3 separate regions of the Homo sapiens genome follow, and regions 1 and 3 are each linked to region 2. The links are contacts of gene promoters, found by promoter capture Hi-C in human tissues and cell types (Jung and others, 2019). All regions are on one chromosome and are shown on one strand. The core of a region is centred on a gene start or on the middle of the fragment in contact, and the rest is flanking DNA. Distances in the headings are between cores, read along the strand shown. Region 1 overlaps TCOF1 (treacle ribosome biogenesis factor 1). Region 2 holds the start of SLC6A7 (solute carrier family 6 member 7). Region 3 overlaps HMGXB3 (HMG-box containing 3).

What was found. The method cuts DNA at HindIII sites, captures the fragments that hold promoters and counts their contacts. A contact is called where the count stands out against the background at its distance.
Region 1: a contact is called between a fragment that was not itself captured here and the fragment with the promoter of SLC6A7 in region 2, in 2 of the 25 tissues and cell types used here (IMR-90 fibroblasts and mesenchymal stem cells).
Region 3: a contact is called between a fragment that was not itself captured here and the fragment with the promoter of SLC6A7 in region 2, in 3 of the 25 tissues and cell types used here (H1 embryonic stem cells, aorta and pancreas).

The regions. Positions count from the first base shown.
Region 1 is chr5:150,363,173-150,366,512 of GRCh38, forward strand. It overlaps TCOF1 (treacle ribosome biogenesis factor 1), which reads left to right. Exons shown (of 27, transcript NM_001371623.1): 3 at 941-1,080. Among named protein-coding and RNA genes, the nearest start is that of TCOF1, 7.1 kb to the left of the region's middle. The HindIII fragment of the contact is 7,992 bases long and covers 1-3,340 here.
Region 2 is chr5:150,188,460-150,191,832 of GRCh38, forward strand. SLC6A7 (solute carrier family 6 member 7) reads left to right here and starts at 1,603. Exons shown (of 14, transcript NM_014228.5): 1 at 1,603-1,901. The coding sequence starts at 1,869. The HindIII fragment of the contact is 16,922 bases long and covers 1-3,373 here.
Region 3 is chr5:150,004,594-150,008,320 of GRCh38, forward strand. It overlaps HMGXB3 (HMG-box containing 3), which reads left to right. Exons shown (of 20, transcript NM_014983.3): 2 at 258-396; 3 at 1,880-2,054. The coding sequence starts at 260. Among named protein-coding and RNA genes, the nearest start is that of HMGXB3, 5.7 kb to the left of the region's middle. The HindIII fragment of the contact is 4,061 bases long and covers 1-3,534 here.

The sequences.
Region 1 (3,340 bases), core at 681-3,180, 180 kb after region 2:
GCTGGGAACAAACCAGAGAAAAATCCCTGCTCAACATTTTTGTTGGGGGAAAAGAGGCAGAATAAATTGATACATGTAAAAATGAAACCTGTTTTTAACAGGAGAATCCTGACAAGTGGCTTTCCTGGGAACAAGGGACCCTACTATCACATCCCAAACCATGACAGAGCAGAGTCCATCGCAGCTGGGAAACCTGGGGCCTAGACAGTGACTCCCTGGGATGGGGGTCAATGGGCGTGAGACTTCAAAGTCCAGGGCCTCAGCCATCTGGGTGCTTATCCTACCCATGCCCTAGACTCACTTTGCCATGAGCAAGTCACTTAGTTGTTCAGTTTTTGAGACATGTGTGAGGCACTGAGGATACTGTAGTGAGCTGCCAGCTGCCTTCCTCCCTGGGCCTTTCTGTGTAGGGGAGGAGTCTAGGAAGTAAGTAAAATAACAGGAGATAGAGAAAAGCTATGAAGAAAATGAAACAGGATCACAGGGCAGAGCATGCCTTGGAAGAGGGGCAATCTTCGAGGGCCTCTCTTGGGGGGCTACATTAAAGTTGAGACGGGAAGGACGAGGACCTGGGCAGAGTCTTCCAAGAAGGCACAGTACACACAGCATGTTCTGCAGGGGGAAGAGCCTGGGCGGTTCTGTGAGGTGCCTGCATGGGTCAGCTCCTATCACTTAAAGACTGGTAGCTGCTGCAGCTGTTATATAACATTATCCAGCATTCCTGATTATTTTAAAGACTAATCAAGAATTGTAAAAGCACTTTATGAAGTGAGTGAAAATGCAGAATACAAAATTGTGCCTATACTGTGTTTTCACCACTGTTTAGATTCTATGCACATTGCCTTTAAGAGCTGGAAGGATGCGGGAAGGTCTGTCTAGTCAATTCTTGTGGAGTTGTTCTGTCACCCAGTTGGTATAGACAGTCACCCTTGTCCTGCAGAACCTCAGAGCTTGGTCGGAAGCGGAAGGCAGAGGAAGATGCGGCACTGCAAGCTAAGAAAACCCGTGTGTCAGACCCCATCAGCACCTCGGAGAGCTCGGAAGAGGAGGAAGAAGCAGAAGCCGAAACCGCCAAAGCCAGTAAGAGCCTTGCAGCTTTGGGAACAGGCTATGGAATATTGATTGTTCTAGGGTAGAGTCTACCTCCAGCTTCTTCTCTTATCACTAGAAGACCTAAAAGACCCTGGGGAGGAGATTGGGAGGGCACCACATATCTTTGGCAGTATTTGAGCCCTTCCTCCGTGCCAGGCATTATATCTCCATGCTCTGGGGGTGCAAGGCCGAACCAAAACAACCAGATGGGCCCTTCCAGTCTCATTTGGTGTATGGGGCCCAGGAGCTGCCCTATTACAGGCTCCCAGGTGATTCTTATTAGCTGGAAAGAAGACACACGTTCAGAAGTACTGCTGGAGGGATTTCAGAAAGCAGCTAGCGGACACATTTTCTGTGTGACCTGTGGGATGCTTTAGGAATTGCTGATCTTCATGTTCATTTAGAATTGTACCCATTAGCACTGGAACGCTGTACTGGGCACTGGTTTTACACCGTTTGCAGGAGTAACTCAGTCAAAGCTTTTATAGCCCCTTCTTCTCCTAAGGTCCCAGGGCTCCTTGTACTTTCCCCAACAGCAGCCATAACTCTACAGAGGAATTGCTGTGTCTCCTTTGCATCGTATTATCTTCTTTTGCTTACATAGAAGACACATTTCTTAATACTTATTTTTTATTTTTCAAGACAAAGTCTTGCCATGTTGTCCAGGCTGGTCTTGAACTCCTGAGCTCAAGTGATCCTCCTGCCTTAGCCTCTTGAGTAGGTGGAATTCCATGCACATACCACCATGCCCAGCTTCCTGAGTCTGCTTTTAAAGTGTTTGAGATCATACTAGGTATATATTTTATTATTTTTTTGAGACGGGGTTTCACTCTTGTCACCCAGGCTGGAGCACAATGGCGTGATGTCAGCTCAGGGCAACCCCCGCCTCCTGGGTTCAAGTGATTCTCCTGCCTCAGCCTCCCGAGTAGCTGGGACTACAGGCATGCACCACTACTGTCAGCTAATTTTGTGGGTTTTCTTTTTCTTTCTTTTTTTTTTTTTTTTTTTTAATAGAGACGGGGTTTCACAATGTTAGCCAGACTAGTCTCAGGTGATCCGCCCACCTTGGCCTCCAAAAGGGCTGGGATTACAGGCATGAGCCACTGCGCCCTGGATATATATTATATATCGCTTAATTTTACATTATAAATGCAAAACGAGTTCACTTTGAACTGTAGAAGAGCATATAGAAGAAAACTTAAAGGTTTTTTGTTGTCCTACCCTGTTCCCTATCATTCCTAAGTGCATCTCCTCATAGGTAACCTTTAAAACTTCCTCCTTTGCCTCTATATTCATTCAAACATGTATTCTTACATGCATATATACAGACCTGCATGCTATTTGAAACACAAATGGTAAAATTTCTTACTGATTGGCTATTTGGTATTAATCAATTTTATAAGCTGTGATAATGGAGGTGTAATTACATTTTTTTGTTTGTTTGTTTGGGGCTTTTTTTGATATGAGGTCTTGCCATGTTGCCTAGACTGGCCTTGAACTCCTGGCCTCAAGTGATCCTCCTGCCTCAGCCTCCGGGTATGTAATTTTATTTTTTTAAAAGTCTTCACTGGGTTGGGCATGGTGGCTCACACCCACCGGTAATCCCAGCACTTTGGGAGGTCAAGGTAGAAGGATCACTTGAGCCCAGGAGTTGGAGACCCGCCTGGGCAACATGGCAAAACCCTGTATCTACAAAAAATTTAAAATTTAGCCAGGCATGGTGGCGTGTGCTTGTAGTTTCAGCTGCCTAGGAGGCCTGAGGTGGGAGGATTACTTGAGCCCAGGAGGTCAAGGCTACAGTGAGCCATGACTGTGCCTGCACTCCAGCCTGGGCAACAGAGCAAGACTGTCTCAAAAAAAAAAAAAAAAGGAAGAAGAGTCCTCGTTGGCATCCTGGGCAACATAGTGAGACTCCGTCTCTGCAAAAAATAAGAAAATTAGCTGGGCATGGTGGCATGCACTGGTGGTCCCAGCTACTCAGGAGGCTGAGATAGGAGAATCATGTGAGTCCAGGCATTGGAGGTTGCAGTGAGCTATGAATGTGCCACTGTACTCCAGCCTGGGCAGCAGAGCAAGACCCTGTCTCAAAAAAAATTTAAAAACGCATCCTCATTGAGAGAGAAACATGCTGAAGTATTTGTGGGCAACGTGGTAGGATCTATGGCATTTTCTTCAAAGTAATGCTTGATGGGGAAGGGTGAGTGAGATAATACATGAGATGAAAAGATTGGTCACAAGTTGTTAATGG
Region 2 (3,373 bases), core at 353-2,852:
CAATGGGAGGGAGTGGTTGAGCAAGGTTGAGCCTCTTTTGTACAAGATGCATTGACAAGCCTTGGGTGAGGGATGGGGAAGTTTCCTGCCTGGGCCTCCTTGGATTCAGGAGCCCTTGGCTTCTGCCTTTCCCAGCCATGACCCACAGCTTTCCTGGCTTCATCCCCAACGCCCAGTGCATGACTTCACTCCTCTGGGACAGTTTCCACAGGTGTAAAATGAGATGCACAAACATGTCTTCCCAGACAGTTGGAAAGAATTAAAAATTAGATGTTGGATGCAAAAATCCTTCATAATGCACACAGTAGGGCTCCATAAATGCTCCTTCTCTTCACACTCACAGCCACTCTTGGCCCCATATGGGTCAGCAGGCAGGGGGCAGAGGAGACACCTTCCTCCTGGGTCTGGAGAGCCCCTGGTTTGCCCTTTGTGGCCAGGCTCAAAGGGGAGAGAAGTTTGACAGGACCTGGGCAGGGGAAGGGGTGGACTGGAGCCTGGCCAGGCCTTTACCCAAGTCCATGCTTTGACTTAAACCCCTCCAACCTTTTTTCAAGCTCCAGAGGTGGGAGAGAGCAGAACCTTATTCTCATCTCTCCCCAAAGGCCTCCCACCGTGTCAACTGATAGTGAGCCAAACAGATGTATGGTTAATGTCTAAACTGGGACACTTGCGAGGGTGAAAAGGACACAATTTGTAATGTATATACTGATCCGCTAGTGTCTATCAGTCAGTCCCAGCAAACCAACGTGTGCCATTGCTCCAGCTCATCATTTCCCATCCTAGCCACAGGCTCACTGGACCCTCAGAACATTCTGAGGCAACAATGCATGGGCGGCTCGTGGCCCATTTTACAGATATGAAATTAGAACTTTCCAGAAGCCATACTGCTGCTGGACAGGAAACCAGTTACTAATCATCTAAGTCACAGATCACAGTGACACTGTGGCACTTGCCTGTCCCTTCTGCTCACCCAAACCTCCCCATTTTGCTTTCATCTTAAGGAAAGGAGGAGAGTTGAAGACTCTACTAGCCTAAAGGTCCATGAAGCCTGACTCTGTCCCTGGTGTCACTCATTAGCCCCGTGACTTTGAGTAAGTAACTTAACTTCCCTGTCCCTCAGCTTCCTCATCTGTAGAATAGGAGTAACGACACCTGTCTCTCCAGGTTGAGAAAATAGGACACCTAGTTCAGGACCTGGCACATTTTAGGTGCTCAATAAATACTGATAGATTGAATAATTGGACTAATGGTGGCGTGGGCAACCCACAGTCAGTGAATAAATGTTAACTGAGCACCTACTATGTGTCAGGCTCTTTGTGCTAGATGTTTTCTATGCTCCATCTTCCTGAATTGCTCACACTCCTGTAAGAGAGGAGAGATTCTTATCCCCTAAGGTCGCACAGCAAAGACGACGCAGGGGGGTGGGCTGTTAGTGTTCCTTGCCCAACTGTGGAAAGGGAGTCCCAGAGAGGGCAGGTCGCTTGCCCAAGGTCACGCAGAAAGCCGAGGGTTTCCGTCGCGAACCCCCCTCCCCACTCGCTCAGGGCTCTCCAATCCGCAGCTCTGCGTGCGGGGGCGCGCGCATCCCCCCGCCGTCCGTCCGTCAGCTGTCTGTCTGGGTGTCTATGCGGGCGCAGCAGTGCACCCTTCCCCAGCCTCGGGCGCTGCGCAGGGACAGACAAGGCATTCGCAGCGCCCTGCCCGCGCTCCACGCCCGCAGCCGCCAGACGGCAGCGCCTGCGTCCGTGCCCGCCCCAGCCGGTGCGCGGGAGCCGCGGGGGCAAAGGCGCAGTGGCCAGCGGACCATCTCTCGTGCCCTCGCTCTCTGCGCTCCGGGGCAGCTGAGCCCCGGCCACCCGCTCTCCAAGATGAAGAAGCTCCAGGGAGCTCACCTCCGCAAGGTAGGGCACGAGGGCGGGGGCGCTGGGGGTGCACCTGGAGGAGGGTTGGAGAGACCCGCCCCCAACGAGGCCCCTGGGGAAGGTCTGAGGATGCACCCAGACCAGCTTCGGGCTCTGGGGAAGGCCCGACTCAGCTGGATAACAGGGAGGGTCAGGGTCACGGTCTGCGCCCCCACCTCTGCCCCTGCCATCTGGGGTTCGGGATGTAGTATGAGGGGAGTCCTGGTTCACTGGGCCAGGCCTATGAACAGGTGTCTGCAGTCCCCGGAGGCGCGGGGTAGGGGCGGCCGGGGCCAGGCACCCACCTCTTCCCCAATTCCACCCTGCTGCTCCCCGCCAGGAGCTGATTGCCGGGTGTGGGGGGTATTGGAATACCTGAGCGTTGAGCTGGACTCATCTGAGGGGTGGGGAGTGGGAGGCGGTCATCCATACTGAAGCCGGCTCCCTGAGCCTGCGGGAAGACTCTCCTCTTTCCTGCCTGCTCCCTCCCCGCCCCCTTAGCTTGCCTGCTGAGACCCCAGGCTGCCCCTCAGCAGGGCTGAAGGGAGGCAAAGACAGGGAGGGGGCTATCGGAGGCAGGAGGATATGATCAATGAAGATGGAAGCTGGTATGGGAGAGTGGCTGTGGGCCCAGACCTCAGGCTCTCCCTACCTTGCCTTGTGGGATTGGACCTCTCAGCCAAGCTGTCAGGATATGGGGAGGGGGAATACTGGGGGACGTTTTCTGGCTTGTACCAGTCCTAACTAAGGAGTCAGATCTCCTGAATACTATTTCTGCCGCTGCCACTTGCCTGGTGACTTTGGACAAGTTCATTCTCTAACCTGAACCTCCTCTGGCTAAGCCCTAGCCTGGAGGCACCAAAACAGGCCCCACTGGGTGTGTGAGGTGTGGGGAAGAATGCTAAAGGGCTGGTAGATGTGAGAAGACTGTTCTCAGGGGCTGGTGTTATCAACCTCCCTACATACACACACATTCACACTCACACTCACTCACACACACACTCATTCATTCAAGTTCTCTGCTCTGGGGCAGCTGGGCTTGGAACCACTGTGGTGTGTCTTTTTTCTTTTTCTTGTTTTTTTTTTTTGAGACGGAGTCTCGCTCTGTCACCCAGGTTGGAGTGCAGTGGTGTGATCTCGGCTCACTGCAAGCTCTGCCTCCCGGGTTCACGCCATTCTCCTGCCTCAGCCTCCCGAGTAGCTGGGACTATAGGCGCCCGCCACCACGCCTGGCTAATGTTTTGTATTTTTAGTAGAGACGGGGTTTCACCGTGTTAGCCAGGATGGTCTTGATCTTCTGACCTCGTGATCCGCCCGCCTCGGCCTCCCAAAGTGCTGGGATTACAGGTGTGAGTCACTGCGCCCAGCTGGTATGTCTTTTTTATTCACTGACATGAGTGACTTCTTGAGACCATTTGTGAGTCTCTTGGGTCCTGTTTCCATTCTTTTCCACTCTCCTTCTCTTCCCTCTC
Region 3 (3,727 bases), core at 254-2,753, 180 kb before region 2:
CTGAGGAATCACCTGAGGCATTTGTTAAGCATGTGGATTTCCATACCCTCGGGAGATTCTGCTCCAGGAGGGCTGAAGTGGAGCTCTGGAATCTTGTGTGTTAAACAACCAAGCCAGGTGCTTCTTAGGATATATTGGGTTTGGGAAATGTCTAAGCCTTAAGGCACTGGCAGAGGTAAGGGGTTATTTGATCAGGAAGCTGCTGCCCCTCTTAGGGGAGATTCTGGAAACTTTATTTTGACTTTCCTTTCCTTTAGCCATGGACGCATCATATGATGGTACTGAGGTAACTGTCGTGATGGAGGAAATTGAGGAAGCCTATTGTTACACCTCTCCTGGGCCACCCAAGAAGAAGAAAAAGTATAAAATACATGGAGAAAAGACAAAGAAACCCAGGTTAGCCAACACATTTTGGTTGCTGCTAGCATTTATAAACAGAAGTTGCTTGGAGAGCTGCATTGAGGAAAACTTTTAAGACTCTTTGAAAAAGAGTGTTATGATTGAAGTCCTGTGTCGAGGGATGAGGAGTGGGAAGTGGAGGGATTTCTGCCAGCATTGCCATTACTGGCCAGACTTTGCTTTTGTTTTCAAGTTGTCACAGGAAATTGTACCATACTGATGGTAGAAGCTAGGTACAAAAGAGCTACATTATTTATTATTATGCCATTGTTGTTATTTAAACATTTAAAACAAAGCATTAATAAAATTACAAAATTAGAAATAAGGCTGGGCGTGATGGCTCATGCCTGTAATCCCAGCAGTTTGGAAGGCTGAGACGGGTGGATCACCTGAGGTCAGGAGTTCGAGACCAGCCTGACCAACGTGGAGAAACCCCGTCTCTACTAAAAATACAAAATTAGCCGGGCGTGGTGGCGCACACCTGTAATCCCAGCTGCTTGGGAGGCTGAGGCAAGAGAATCACTTGAATCTGGGAGGCGGAGGTTGCGGTGAGCCAAGATTGTGCCATTGCACTACAGCTTGGCCAACAAGAACGAAACTCCTCTCAAAAAAAAAAAAAAAAGAAAAGAAAAAGAAAAAAAACACACAAAAAGAAATAATACCAATTATATCTGTACAGAATATCCAAATTGTAGCTCTAACTTCACTCTTGACTGTGAATACCTCAAACTTGTGAAACTACCAGCATTGGTCATTTTGATTGGTCTGCTTGCTTCCCTCTCTCATCCTTGGGGAGGTGCCATTGACCAGGTTGGTGACCAAAGGCTGCGTAGAGGAGCACGGAGTGTGAGTGATAACCAGCCCCTTGAGGAAGCTTTCCCTGAGAGTGGAATGACAGGACAGGACACCTGTATCTATCTTTGCTTTAAAATCATTCCTGCACAAAAAGCGATCTTTAGGAAAGCCAGTCAAATGAGCCTTTGCTTCCAGGTTTCTGAAGGGGAAACAGCCACTTGCTATCTTTACCATTCATTTTCCCCTCCTCCCTTGGAGCCCCTTATCTTCCTGGGTAGTTACTCCTGACTGTAATATAGTGGCTCTAATGTAGTAACTTTAATATGGTAGCTTATATAAGCATTTCTCCTATACCATGAGTTTTTATATTACAAATTGAATGTAATATAATTTGTGTTGTACTGACAGCTATCAGTTATAATCAGGAATAAGATTATAACTTATTATAACACCATCTGAGGATGTTATTTAAATGTTTGTTTGCTTGACTTTCAGTCCCTATTTAGATAAATGCTTAGAAATGAGAAGCTAGGTTTTATCAACCTCTTGACTACCCATATCTTAGCATAGTAGTACTTACTGGTTGAATGAAGTCCTGGGTCGAGGGATGGGGAGTGGGAAGTGGAGGGATTTCTGCCAGCATTGCCATTACTGGGAAAGCCTGAAGAAGTCATTGCTTCCTCAGGTCTGCTTACCTTCTGTACTATTACGACATCTACCTGAAAGTGCAGCAGGAGCTCCCCCACCTCCCTCAGTCTGAGATCAATAAGAAGATTAGTGAGAGTTGGAGGCTTCTCAGCGTGGCCGAGAGGAGTTACTACTTGGAGAAAGCCAAACTAGAGAAGGAAGGTTTGGATCCTGTAAGTAATTTTTTTTTCCAGCTATTTTTTCCACTGGTTCAGTGATGAAGGCCTTGGGAAAACCAAGCCCCTTGTTCTGTTTCCTTTTCTTTTTTTGGGAAAAGTTTCATCGTTTTATCCTTCTTGACTCTGGGCTTGCTTGTTTCCATTTTGATAATGCCCTGCACTCTCTTGTCCTCTTCGGTTGCAGCAATACGTGGAGCTGACATTTTTTTGTGTTTTCTGCAGTGAGCCTTAGGTTCCTTTTCTAAATTTTAGTGTAACTTGGAGCCCCTCATAGTTACTATAAATAGTAGCTTTAATGTAGTAAACTTTAATATAGTAGTTTATATAGGCATTTCTCCTACGCCATGAGTTTTCATATTACAGATTGAATGTAGTATATTGTACTAACTGCTATCAGTTATAATCAGGAATAAGGTTTGCATGTTTAGAGGTAGATAGAGCTGCTTGTGTAATACAGTACCACATTATTTTGTTAGCACTGGTGGTTGGAAACTATGCTGAAAGCAAAAATGCAAGTAAAGCCAAAGATGGTGGAGGAGACCAAGGCTTTGGGTGCTTGGGTTAAAGGACTAACAAGGAAGCATTTAGAATTATGTCTGTCAGCATTTTCTTATTTCTAGTTCACAGTAACAAAATACACTGACAGCTATTTAAACTGCTGGGTTTTTGTTTTTTTGAGAGTATCCCTGTCATGGCATAAACTGCTGTTTTTTTAAACTGAAATTCCTGCAGGAAGAATAACCTTGCTGTTGCAGGCTGGAACCTTTTATCCTTAACTCCTTATTTCAATAGAAACAGTTGTCTGTAACTTCTATTTTGGTAATGTAGAGCAACAGCAACAACTACGTTATAGCAGAACAGGTTGTATTTTCCCTTATTGGAGCTCATCAGCTACTGCCATTTAAATTATTTTGTGCTTATTGGCCTGGCATTCTTCTTTCTGGGAGAGCTTTGTCTTACCTACAGGCTTGGAGATGCTACTCTCTGCTCCCTCCTCTAGGTGATTTGTTTATTAACAGTGAATCTGGGAAATAATCCCTATAGTGGAGTGGAGATGGAGTCTAAGAAAAGCTTATCTACTCCCTTTGGTTTCCTTATTATAATAAAATCAGCTGTCTAGGCTGGGTGTGGTAGCTCATGCCCGTAATCCCAGCACTTTAGGAGGCTGAGGTGGGAGGATCACTTGAGCCCAGGAGTTTAAGACTAGCCTGGGCAAGTTGGCGAAACTCTATCTCTACAAAAAATAGGAAAAGATTAGCCAGGCGTGGTGGCATACACCTGTAGTCCCAGCCACTCAGGAAGCTGATGTGGGAGGATCACTTGAGCCGGGGAAGTGGAGGTTGCAGTGAGCCGTGATTGTGCCACTGCACTCTAGCCTGGGCAACAGAGTGAGACTCTGTTTCACACACACACACACACACACACACACACACACACACACACACAAATCAGCAATCTTTTTGTGCATGATAAAATCCTACGTAATCCTGGAGTGATTTGATTTTTAAAACTACACACTAATGTAGATCATTATCAAGACTTTAAAAAAATTTAAATCATCTGCAATGATTCTTCCTTATTTACATGCTTATTTCTATCTACCACTATCTCTACCACTGCCACCAAGAACATGAGTAGGTTAGTTCTGATAATAGCTGAGTGACCAT